Regions from separate parts of the Homo sapiens genome. Here region 1 is linked to region 2. Evidence: promoter capture Hi-C in human tissues and cell types (Jung and others, 2019). All regions are on one chromosome and are shown on one strand. The core of a region is centred on a gene start or on the middle of the fragment in contact, and the rest is flanking DNA. Distances in the headings are between cores, read along the strand shown.

Region 1 (5,008 bases), core at 1,774-4,273, 520 kb after region 2:
TGATGTATTTAAAGCACTTAGAAAGTTCCCTGGCACATAGTAGGCACTCAGTAAATATTAGCTATGATTATTTTTTTCCTCATGCCCCTTGGGAAAACTTGGCATTGCTTGACAGTTATTCCAGAAACATCACTCTAGCCTCAGAAATCTCCAAAAGGTCCGGTGATATTTTCCCTAGGAGGAGACAAATTCCTATGGTGGTAAGTGATTGAAAAAAGGGATCATAATAACACAATAGAAGGACATCAAAAACAAATAAAACTGACTTCCTGATTTTGTCTGGAGATTGGCAAATTTAGCCTTTAGACCGAACCCTGTTCTGTAAGTAAAGTTTCATTGGGACACCCATTTGTTTCCGTATTGGCCGTGACTGTTTTTGCACAGCAGGGTTGAGTAGTTGCAACACAGACTGTATGGCTGTCAAAACCTAAAATATTGGCTAAATTGTCCTTTACAGAAACATTTGCTGACCCTGGTACATAGTTTACATTATGAGTTGGCTACTCATCACTGTCACCTGAGGGCCACATCTTATCAAAGCTCAGAGAGATAAACACAAAGGGTTTAGGATGAAGTGTTTTACAGGGATAGTAATGCCATATAATGATGATGATGATAGATAACACTTATTTGTTTACTATGGTCACACACACTTCTAAGTATTTGATAGATACTAAGTCTTTTTGATAAACACAAAAATGCCCAGCATCTCAGTACTCCCTCAAGTTTATTCAGTCACTGGCAAAATTAGCCTATGAACCCAGACAATAGCTGGAAGTTGAGGAGAAACTTATTTTTTTAAGAGATGATGTCTTCCTCTGTTGCCCAAGTTGGAGAGTAATGGTGCCATCATAGCTCAAGCTCCTCGACTCAAGAGATTCTCCCATCTCAGCCTCTGAGTAGCTAGGACTACAGGCATATGCCATCATGCTTGGGAAAAGAGGAGTGACTTTTAAATGTGATGGATTTATGGTAAGAAGACTCTAAAGTCATATTTGGGCAAAGGAGTGTTTAGTTATCTTCGAATTCGCTTTAAGATGTAAAAGAAATTTATCATCCTCAAATCAGTTTAGAGATTCAATGGAATTCCAATAAAAATATCAAAAGGGAGTTTTAAAAAGTGAAATTAAAGCTAACTTTAAAGTTCATTTTTAATAGCACATGTGTAAGAATATAGAAGAAAAACATCTAAAAGAACTGCCTTGCTAAGATATCAAAGCATGCTATAAAGTGATAACAACCAAAACACTTGGTTCTCGATGTTAGAACAAACAGCTCAATAGATCATAACAGGTGATATTCAAAGATACGCAAAGATATGTATGGTAAAATAATTCACAACAAAGATAGAATTTTAAGTCAGTGGGGGAAGGACAGATCCATTCAGAAAACAGCATTGAGTCACTTGGTTATCCATTTGGAAAATCAATAAGGTTAGATGCCTATCTCACGTCATATATTAAATTCATGATTGATTAGATCAGAACCTCCTGACCAATGTGCACACTGGTATAGCGTAAGCGGGTTACAAGTGACTTGAGTTATTGATCCCTCAGTGGGCCACTAGGTACAGCCTGGTATTGTCAGTACTCCTAGGCTGGTTGCTGCCTTCCACAATCACTTATGAGCACAATTGCTCGTGTACTCTAGTTTTCTGTACAAACATTACAATTTTATTTTTTATTTTTATTTTTTTTGAGACAGAGTCTCACTCTGTTGCCCAGGCTGGAGTGCAGTGGCTCCATCTCGGCTCACTGCAAGCTCCGCCTCCTGGGTTCACGCCATTCTCCTGCCTCAGCCTCCTGAATAGCTGGGACTACAGGCACCCGCCACCACGCCCGGCTAATTTTTTGTATGTTTAGTAGAGACGGGGTTTCACCATGTTAGCCAGGATGGTTTTGATCTCCTGACCTTGTGATCAGCCCGCCTAGGCCTCCCAAAGTGCTGGGCTTACAGGCGTGAGCCACTCTGCCCGGCCTTAAACATCACAATTTTCTATGTTTTCAACCACTCTAAAAAAGTTAGGCTTACTTTAAACAGCAAAAACAAATGAAATATAAATATTAAAACTTCTCATCAATGTCACCAATAAAAACAGTATCTCCCTACATTCCCTGGGCTCCTCTGCAACAACCTATTCTTCAACATGAATATTTTTAATCCTTAGGAAGATGTAGACATGGGAGGATAAAAAATTATGTCACACACACACACACACACACACACACACACACTAGGAAGCACTGGATTAAATGCCACTTGTGCACACACACACACACACACACTAGGAAGCACTGGATTAAATGCCACTTGTGCACACACACACACACACACTAGGAAGCACTGGATTAAATGCCACTTGTGCACACACACACACACTAGGAAGCACTGGATTAAATGCCACTTGTGCACACACACACACTAGGAAGCACTGGATTAAATGCCACTTGTGCGCGCGCACACACACACACACTAGGAAGCACTGGATTAAATGCCACTTGTGCACACACACACACTAGGAAGCACTGGATTAAATGCCACTTGTGCGCGTGCACACACACACACACTAGGAAGCACTGGATTAAACAGCTAAAAGAAAAATATTTGAGCTTTCCACTGCTGGCCAAGGTGAAGTAACAGGAACTGGATTTGCCTTCCCACCAGAAACAACCAAAATCTAACAATAAATAACAGCCCTGACGACATTGGACATCAGGTCAGAAAGAATCTCAGTGGTCCCTGAAAGATGGGGAGCAAATAAGGTGATCCCCAAGATTGTAGCACTTTCCTACCTGGAGAAGGTTTCAAGGGCACAGCAAATGCGTGGGGAACTCAAGGTGACTCCGGAAGGTTCCCTGAGTCATGTAGGTAGAACAGAGAGTCCAGAGGGTCCCAGGCAGCTGGGGCTCACAGGGCAGTGACTGGAGAAAGGGAAATCCTGAGGTCTGCAGGAGATCTTAAGCAGTGGGGAAAACTACCCTTAGATCAAACATTTTGTTGATCTTTTCCAGTAAAATTTAAAGCAAGATCTGAAAGTACCAATTTCCAAGTAACTTTACCACATCACAAAACAAAGCTCAAAACTGTTTTTAAGAATACAGAAATGTCCAGTTCTCACCAAAGAAAAAGTATTGACATTCAACATTAATAACGAATTACCGGGCACACAAAGAAACAGAAAAATAAATGAGGAGGGGACGAATCAACAAATCAAACTGACCCCAAAATGACACAGATAATAAAATTAATAGACAAGGACATTCAATGTATTATTATAACTGCATTCCATACATTCAAAAAGCTAGAAGTATTGAACACATTAAGTCTAGACATAAAATATCTCTTAACAATTGAAGTTCTAGAGGTGAAAACTATAATGTCTGAGATAATCAATACATTGATTAGGATTAATGGGAGATTAGATATTACAAAGAAAATATTTGTATGCATGTAAAGATTTGTACATCTGAAAACATAGCAATAGAAATTATCCAAGACCCTGAGATAAAAGTGATAAAGAAAAAAAAAAAAGAAAGAAAACCCCCATAACATCAATGAACTATGGGATTACTTCAAGTGGCCAAATATATATGCAATTGGAGACCCAAAGGAGGAGGAGACAGAAAATACATTTAAAGAAATAATGGCCTCCAACTTTCCAAGTATGATGAAGACTTTATTTTTTAATTTTAATTTAATTTTTTTTTGAGACAGAATCTTGCTCTGTCACCCAGGCTGGAGTGCGGTGGTGCAATCTCCACTCACTGCAACCTCCGTCTCCTGGGTTCAAGCTATTCTCCAGCTTCAGCCTCCCGAGTAGCTGGGACTACAGTTGTGAGCCACCATGCCCAGCTAATTTTTGCATTTTTAGTAGAGATGGAGTTTTGCCATGTTGGCCAGGTTGGTCTTCAACTCCTGAGCTCCAGTGATCCACCCGCCTCGGCCTCCCAAAATGCTAGAATTACAGGTGTGAGCCACTGCGCCTGGCCTGATGAAGACTTTAAATCCACACCACCCAATAAGCTCAATGAACCCCAAGCACAAGAAACCAAAGAAAACGATACCAACACATATTGTAATCAAATTTCTTAAACCTAGTGATAAAGAGAAAATCTTAAGCCCAAGAAAATACATATATATATATATATATATATATATATATATATATATATATATATATATACACTTACTCAAAATTTACAGGAAATTTCAGCTCATTCATGAACTTCAGGTTAAGAACTTTCTAATTTAGCTTAAGGAGGTGAAGGCATGAGAACAAGCTTGTGGTAAGGTGGAGGGAACAAGTCATACTGCACACCAGTGGTTAAAGTCTGGTCACTGCCATTGTAGAATTCCCTCTGCGCTGAGATCCCCAGAACCATATGTTTGTACTATTCTGGGATTGTTTGGGTCAAATTATAAATGAAGCCCCATTGTTGACAATTGCTGCTAATGTTTCTCTCTCTCTCTCTCTTTTTTTTTTTTTTTGAGACAGAGTCTCTTGCTGTGTTGCCCAGGCTGGAGTGTAGTGGTGTGATCTTGGCTCACTGCAACCTCCGCCTCCTGGGTTCAAGAGAGTCTCCTGCCTCAGTCTCCTGAGTAGCTGGGATTACAGGTGTCCTCCAACATGCTTGGCTAATTTTTTGTATTTTTAGTAGAGATGGGGTTTCACTATATTGGCCAGGCTGGTCTTGAATTCCTGACCTCAGGTGATATGCCCGACTCGACCTCTCAAAGTGCTGGGATTACAGGCATGAGCCACCATGCCTGGCCTGTTTTCCTCTTTTGAAAAAGGAATGGACCACTTTATAGAATACTTGGCAAATAAGCCTGTAGGAATCAAATATTTATTAGGATATAGCCATTTGGATTCTTGATATGATTGAGCAGACATACAATGAGTGCAAAATACAAAGATTCTTCTTTTTTTAAAATTTAATTGAATTTTTTATTTCAATAGTTTTTTTGGGGGTGCAGGTGGTTTTTGGTTACATGGATACGTTCTTTA
Region 2 (4,987 bases), core at 1,383-3,882:
ATAATCTAGGGAGGATAACACAGATACACACGAAAAATAAATTAATACCACAGCATGCTAGCCAAGTTATGTTAACTTTAGAAATTGATTATATGCCAAAAGGCCCCTAGATGCTTTTTTTTTTTTTTTGAGATGGAGTTTTGCTCTTGTTGCCCAGGCTGTAGTGTAATGTAGTGCAATCTTGGCTTAGTACAACCTCTGCCTCCTGGGTTCAAGCCATTCTCCTGCCTCAGACTCTGGAGCTCCCCAGTAGCTGGGATTACAAGCAGCCGCCACCACGCCCGGCTAATTTTTTGTATTTTTAGTAGAGACGGCGTTTCACCATGTTGGCCAGGCTGGTCTTGAACGCCTGACCTCAGGTGATCCACCCGCCTCCGGCCTCCCAAAGTGCTGGGATTACAGGCGTGAGCCACTGCACCCGCGCCCCCGCCCCCACCCCCTCCCCCCCAGATGTTCTTATTCTCTGCCTTCTGTTTTCCAAAATCCTCCTTTCCCCTGAAGGTGACCTGAACAAGATGCGGTTGGGCAGTGCTGGGTGAAGCAGCCACATGTGTGTACTGCTCACCTGCAGAGCTGTAGGCTGTACCTGCAGTATGCAGAGGAGTCCTTCTAATTTTGCTCTCTGTCTTCCAGGCACCTGGGCAAACAGTGAGCAGGTACTGGAGGATCAGAGGGTCGCCTTCTCGACTGGCAATGTGGAAACTGTTCCAGCCATCTTTGTTCTTCAGGAGTGGATTGGCGCCATGTTCCACCAGCTCCTGGATCACCCCCAGGTTCTTCCTTGTGCAGGCCATCATCAGAGGAGTCCTAAGGCCAACCAGGAGAAGCTGTCAGATGGAGGCAGCTGAGACATTAGAAGCCAGGGGCCAGGTCTTCAAAACACACACATCCTTGGCACAGATGGAAAACCTAGAGGATTCAGGGGTCTGGCAGGCAGGAAAACAGCTTTGACCGGCAACCTCTGTGCCTTCTGTGAGGACCCTGGGAGAAATAATAAGGGGAAAATGATTGTAACGAACGTGTACCTAGAGGAGAGGGTGCCTGGGAGACAAAGCAGCTTATAAGCTAGTTCACAGGATAGCAGTGAATTGGAGCAGAGCTAAGAAAACCCACAGACAACCCTCAACACATAACGAAGTCTATTCCCCTGCCCCAGTGGGGAAGATGTACTTCCCTATGTTCCTAAAGATGTTCACGCCCTCTAACGAACCTGACCTAGTGAGTACTAAAATCAGTGTCAATCTAACAAACGAAATGCAATTGGCTTGTGTGATGGTGGAGCAGAGTATCTCTGACTGTGGTGGTTATGCAAGGCTGCACGTATGTGATACAACTGCACTGTGCTCTACACACACGAGCGCGTGTATAACTCAGGAATTCTGGATATTGATTGGAGCAATGCCACTTGAAACAATGCATTGGTGCAGAAGTAACTTAGCTAAATGTCCCCAGAACATCGCATCCGGAGGCTATCTGTATAGTGCACACACTTCATTGTTTGGTAACATTCTCTTTGGTTATATTCTACACTATTCCGTGCTCTAGAAAGGGAGGTGACTGCCCCGACCAGTTAACCCACAAGGGCAGGAACGAGGGACTCTGCAGGTCATCTGCGTTATAAGGGAAAGTTGGGCAGGAGGTCCCTGCCGCTGAGCAGGCCTGGGGTGAGAACTAGGAGCTGAGAACAGCTACGGTGTCCAAGGGGACGGAGAAGCACAGGGAACTCGCTACGACTCTGCGAGTAGAGGGGAGGCGGGGTGTCTTTCCGCTCCACACCTACCAGTCGGCCTTCTTCAGGCAGTCGACCGCTGCCCCCCGGCCCAGCAGGTAGCGCACGCAGTCTCGGTGGCCCATGGAGGCCGCCTCGTGCAGAGGCCGCTTGTAGTCTCGGTTGGTGGCCTCGATGTCCATGCCCCAGGCCTCGGCCAGATAGGCCAGCACGTCCCGATGCCCGTGGCGCGCGGCGCAGTGCAGGAGGGTATCCCCGGCCGGCCCCGGGCAGCCCCCGGCCGCCTGCAGCTCCTCCTTCAGGGCGCGCAGCCGGCCCTCCTGCACCAGCCTGCAGAGGCGCCGCGGGTCCCCGGGCTGGGCCATCGCCGCGGGTCGGGCCGGGCTGCGCGGGGAGGCGGCGGGCGGGACACCGGCGGCCGGGCAGGGAGAAGCCGAGGGCGAGTGGGACTTTCCGCCTCTTCACGCAACCTGCCCCGCGCGCCCCGAACCCGGCAGAACCGCCCCTCACGCCCCCGGCTTTGTCCCCGGCAGAGCCGCCTCCTCAAACCCCCGGCCTAGTCCGCAGGCGGGCTGCCCCCTCACAGCCCCGGCCTGCCCCGCGTGGGAGAAGCCGCGGTTCCGGGCACGGGGCGGTTTTTCCTCAGGGACGGAGCGGTCCGGGATGAGCACGGAGGGGCCTGGGGATCCGAGAGCGCTGGCGTCCGCCGTCCTGGAGCTGCAGCGGCCCGTACGTGATTCGGGACTGAACACGTAAGGGAGTGGGGCGCGCCGCTACACCGCAAAGCCCCAAAGTGGAGGGTCCGGGAGGGCGCGCACAGCCTCGCCCGGCGCCGTGCAGGGTGGCTCCTGAGGCAGCCAGGCCCAAGCGTGACCTGCCCCGCACGCGTCCTCAGGGCCGCCCCAGCCTCCAGCCCCTGGGGGCCGGCGTTCCTGGGCTCCGCCCCCGTCCCCGCCCCTCGACCGCCGCTGCTCCGCGGGGACTCGGGGAGCTCGAAGGAACTCTGGGAAAGTTTCCCGCTCCGCCCCGGCCCGAGCGGAAGCGCGGATGGGGCGTGGCCCGGTAGCTGTGGCCGCGCCCCCACCGATTGCGCATTTCGATTGGCGTTAGTGGCCGTCCGTCAGCACGCCCCCTCCGGTCTCGCGTCCCGATTGGTCGCGGGGGCCGTCAGTCCGGCTCCGGCGGCGGGCGCTTCCCGGGGCTGCGGCGGGGCGGAGCTCGCGGAGGAAGTCGGCGGGCGTCTCGGGCTCCAGGTCCCGGCCAGAGGAGGAGCTCGCTGCCGGGGGACGCTGGGCTGAGCGGCCGGCGGCGCGGGCCCGGCGGCGGCGGCAGCGGGGTCCGGGTCCGGAGCGCCACAGTGCGTGAGGCCGCAGACGTGGCAGGGAGTGTGGGAGGGGCTCCGCCGTGTGGAAAACTTAACCTCCGGGGTCCTGCGCGGGGGGTCCGGGCCCGGGGTGGGGCAGCGGGGGCCCCGGGGGCGCGAGGCTGGGCTCGGGCAAGCGCGGGCGTGGGGGCTCGGCCGTCCGGGCCGTGGGCAGGTGGAGGGCGCGGCGGGGGTGCGCGGGGGAGGCCAGGGCGCTCACTGAACTCGGTCGGGAGCGGCCCCCGCGCTGCCCCCCGAGGCCAGGAAGGCGCAGCGTGTGGGTCCTCGGGGCTGAAGGGGCAAGCGCGGGGACGTGGCCTCGGCTGCTAGGAGGCCAGGCTTTCCCGTCTACTCTGACGTTTTGACCTTGGGCAAGTCATTTTTCGCTGCCCTCTGCCCCTGTGTCATCGGTAGCTTCTCTGCCCCTCCTCTGAGCATGGGAAGCCTAAGGCGATGTGGGAGGCCTGGCGCTGGTGGAGGGCACGGCGAGAGCTGGGCAGGCTGTGGGTGATGGAAGAGATCAGTAGGTGTTGGGTTCCTTACCCGATCTGATTAGGTGCCAGTCACTTAACCTCTCCATGTTTTCGATTCCTTTAGGGAGTAGAATGGGAGTAGCTCCTATTTGCCAGGCCTAAAAACGAGTGCCGTTTACATTTTTTATTGCAGTCTGTGGTCCGAAGACAACCCTATGAGGCATCAGTAGGGTTTTACAGGTGGGGAAGTGGAGGCCTAACCAAGTCAGTGACTTTCTTACAGAATTACAGGTAATAAAGTCTTCTGGAAGGCAGGATGGTAGCATGTGTTGAGTGTCCGCCAGCGTCTGCCGCTGTGGTAAAATGAGCGGAGATAAATGAAAAGACTTCTGGAATGGGCCCATGAAGATAAGTCCGTTTTACTCATGAGCAGATTGAGTTTGGTTAAGGTAACAGTGATGTGGATAGCCTCTGGAGACAGAACTAGTCCAAGTACCAGCTTTGCTCAGGTTATTGTTCTGTCGTGCCTTGTCACTCCAGCAAAAGAAAAAAAGGAAGGCATAAAAGTTGTTTGAAATGCACAAAAGTGTAGGGCGTGCCAAGCAGTGTTCTGCTGCCGTTGAAGTTAGTGCAAATTGGAAGTTGAGGCATCTGGTAGCTTCATGCTTTTTGCTTTTACCCCTGCCCCTCTCCCAGTTTCAGATGACTATCTTCTCTTGCATTATGTCTCTAGTTTCCCTGTTTTTTAAACATAATTGGGACACACGGGTTCACAGTAGGTTGGAATATATATATATATTTTGAGACAGAGTCTCGCTCTGTTGCTCCGGGTGGAGTGCAGTGGCACGATCTCGGCTCACTGCAACCTCCCCCTCCCGGGTTCAAGCAATTCTCCTGCCTCAGCCTCCCGAGTAGCTGGGATTACAGGCGTGTGCCACCATGCTCGGCTAATTTTTTTGTATTTTTAGTAGAGACGGGGTTTCACCATGTTGGCCAGGCTGGTCTTTAAACTCCTGGCCTCAAGTAATTCACCCAGCTCGGCCTCCCAAATGCTGGGATTACAGGCGTGAGCCACCGTGCCTAGCCAGGTTGGAATATTTGAACCCAGGATAATTGGTTACTTCATTGGTGTTGCACATTCGATTCTGCCTCTTGTGTCTTCTCTATGAACCTTCTTTGCTCTGTATCCCCCTTTGGATAACTAAATGATAATGTATGTGAATCTGTCCCGCAGCTCCTGTGATTTTCTGGGCAAAAGCTTGGTCTAGAGGGGCGGGATCTGAACAGTAAGCTAATGGATGGAGCTGTTTCCTGGGTCTTGCTGTTTTCCGGTTGGGCTGCTCATTTCTTTCGTGCAGACTTTTGGAGGTTGTGGTCTGGCCTTTACAGTCACGTCACATGTAGTCGTCATTGGCACCGACT

The links. Contacts are between HindIII fragments. The study calls those that stand out against the background at their distance.
Region 1: a fragment that was not itself captured here is called in contact with the fragment with the promoter of ANKRD16 in region 2 in 1 of the 25 tissues and cell types used here (spleen).

Annotation. Positions count from the first base shown.
Region 1 is chr10:6,411,274-6,416,281 of GRCh38, forward strand. It overlaps a transcript of PRKCQ not described here. Among named protein-coding and RNA genes, the nearest start is that of LINC02656, 63 kb to the left of the region's middle. The HindIII fragment of the contact is 9,433 bases long and covers 1-5,008 here.
Region 2 is chr10:5,887,261-5,892,247 of GRCh38, forward strand. It overlaps ANKRD16 (ankyrin repeat domain 16), which reads right to left and starts at 2,633. Exons shown (of 8, transcript NM_019046.3): 1 at 1,781-2,633; 2 at 587-807. The coding sequence starts at 2,094. It overlaps FBH1 (F-box DNA helicase 1), which reads left to right and starts at 2,983. Exons shown (of 21, transcript NM_178150.3): 1 at 2,983-3,086. The coding sequence starts at 3,086. RefSeq lists silencers at 1,916-2,195, 2,206-2,315, 2,456-3,175, 3,366-3,415. The HindIII fragment of the contact is 15,491 bases long and covers 1-4,987 here.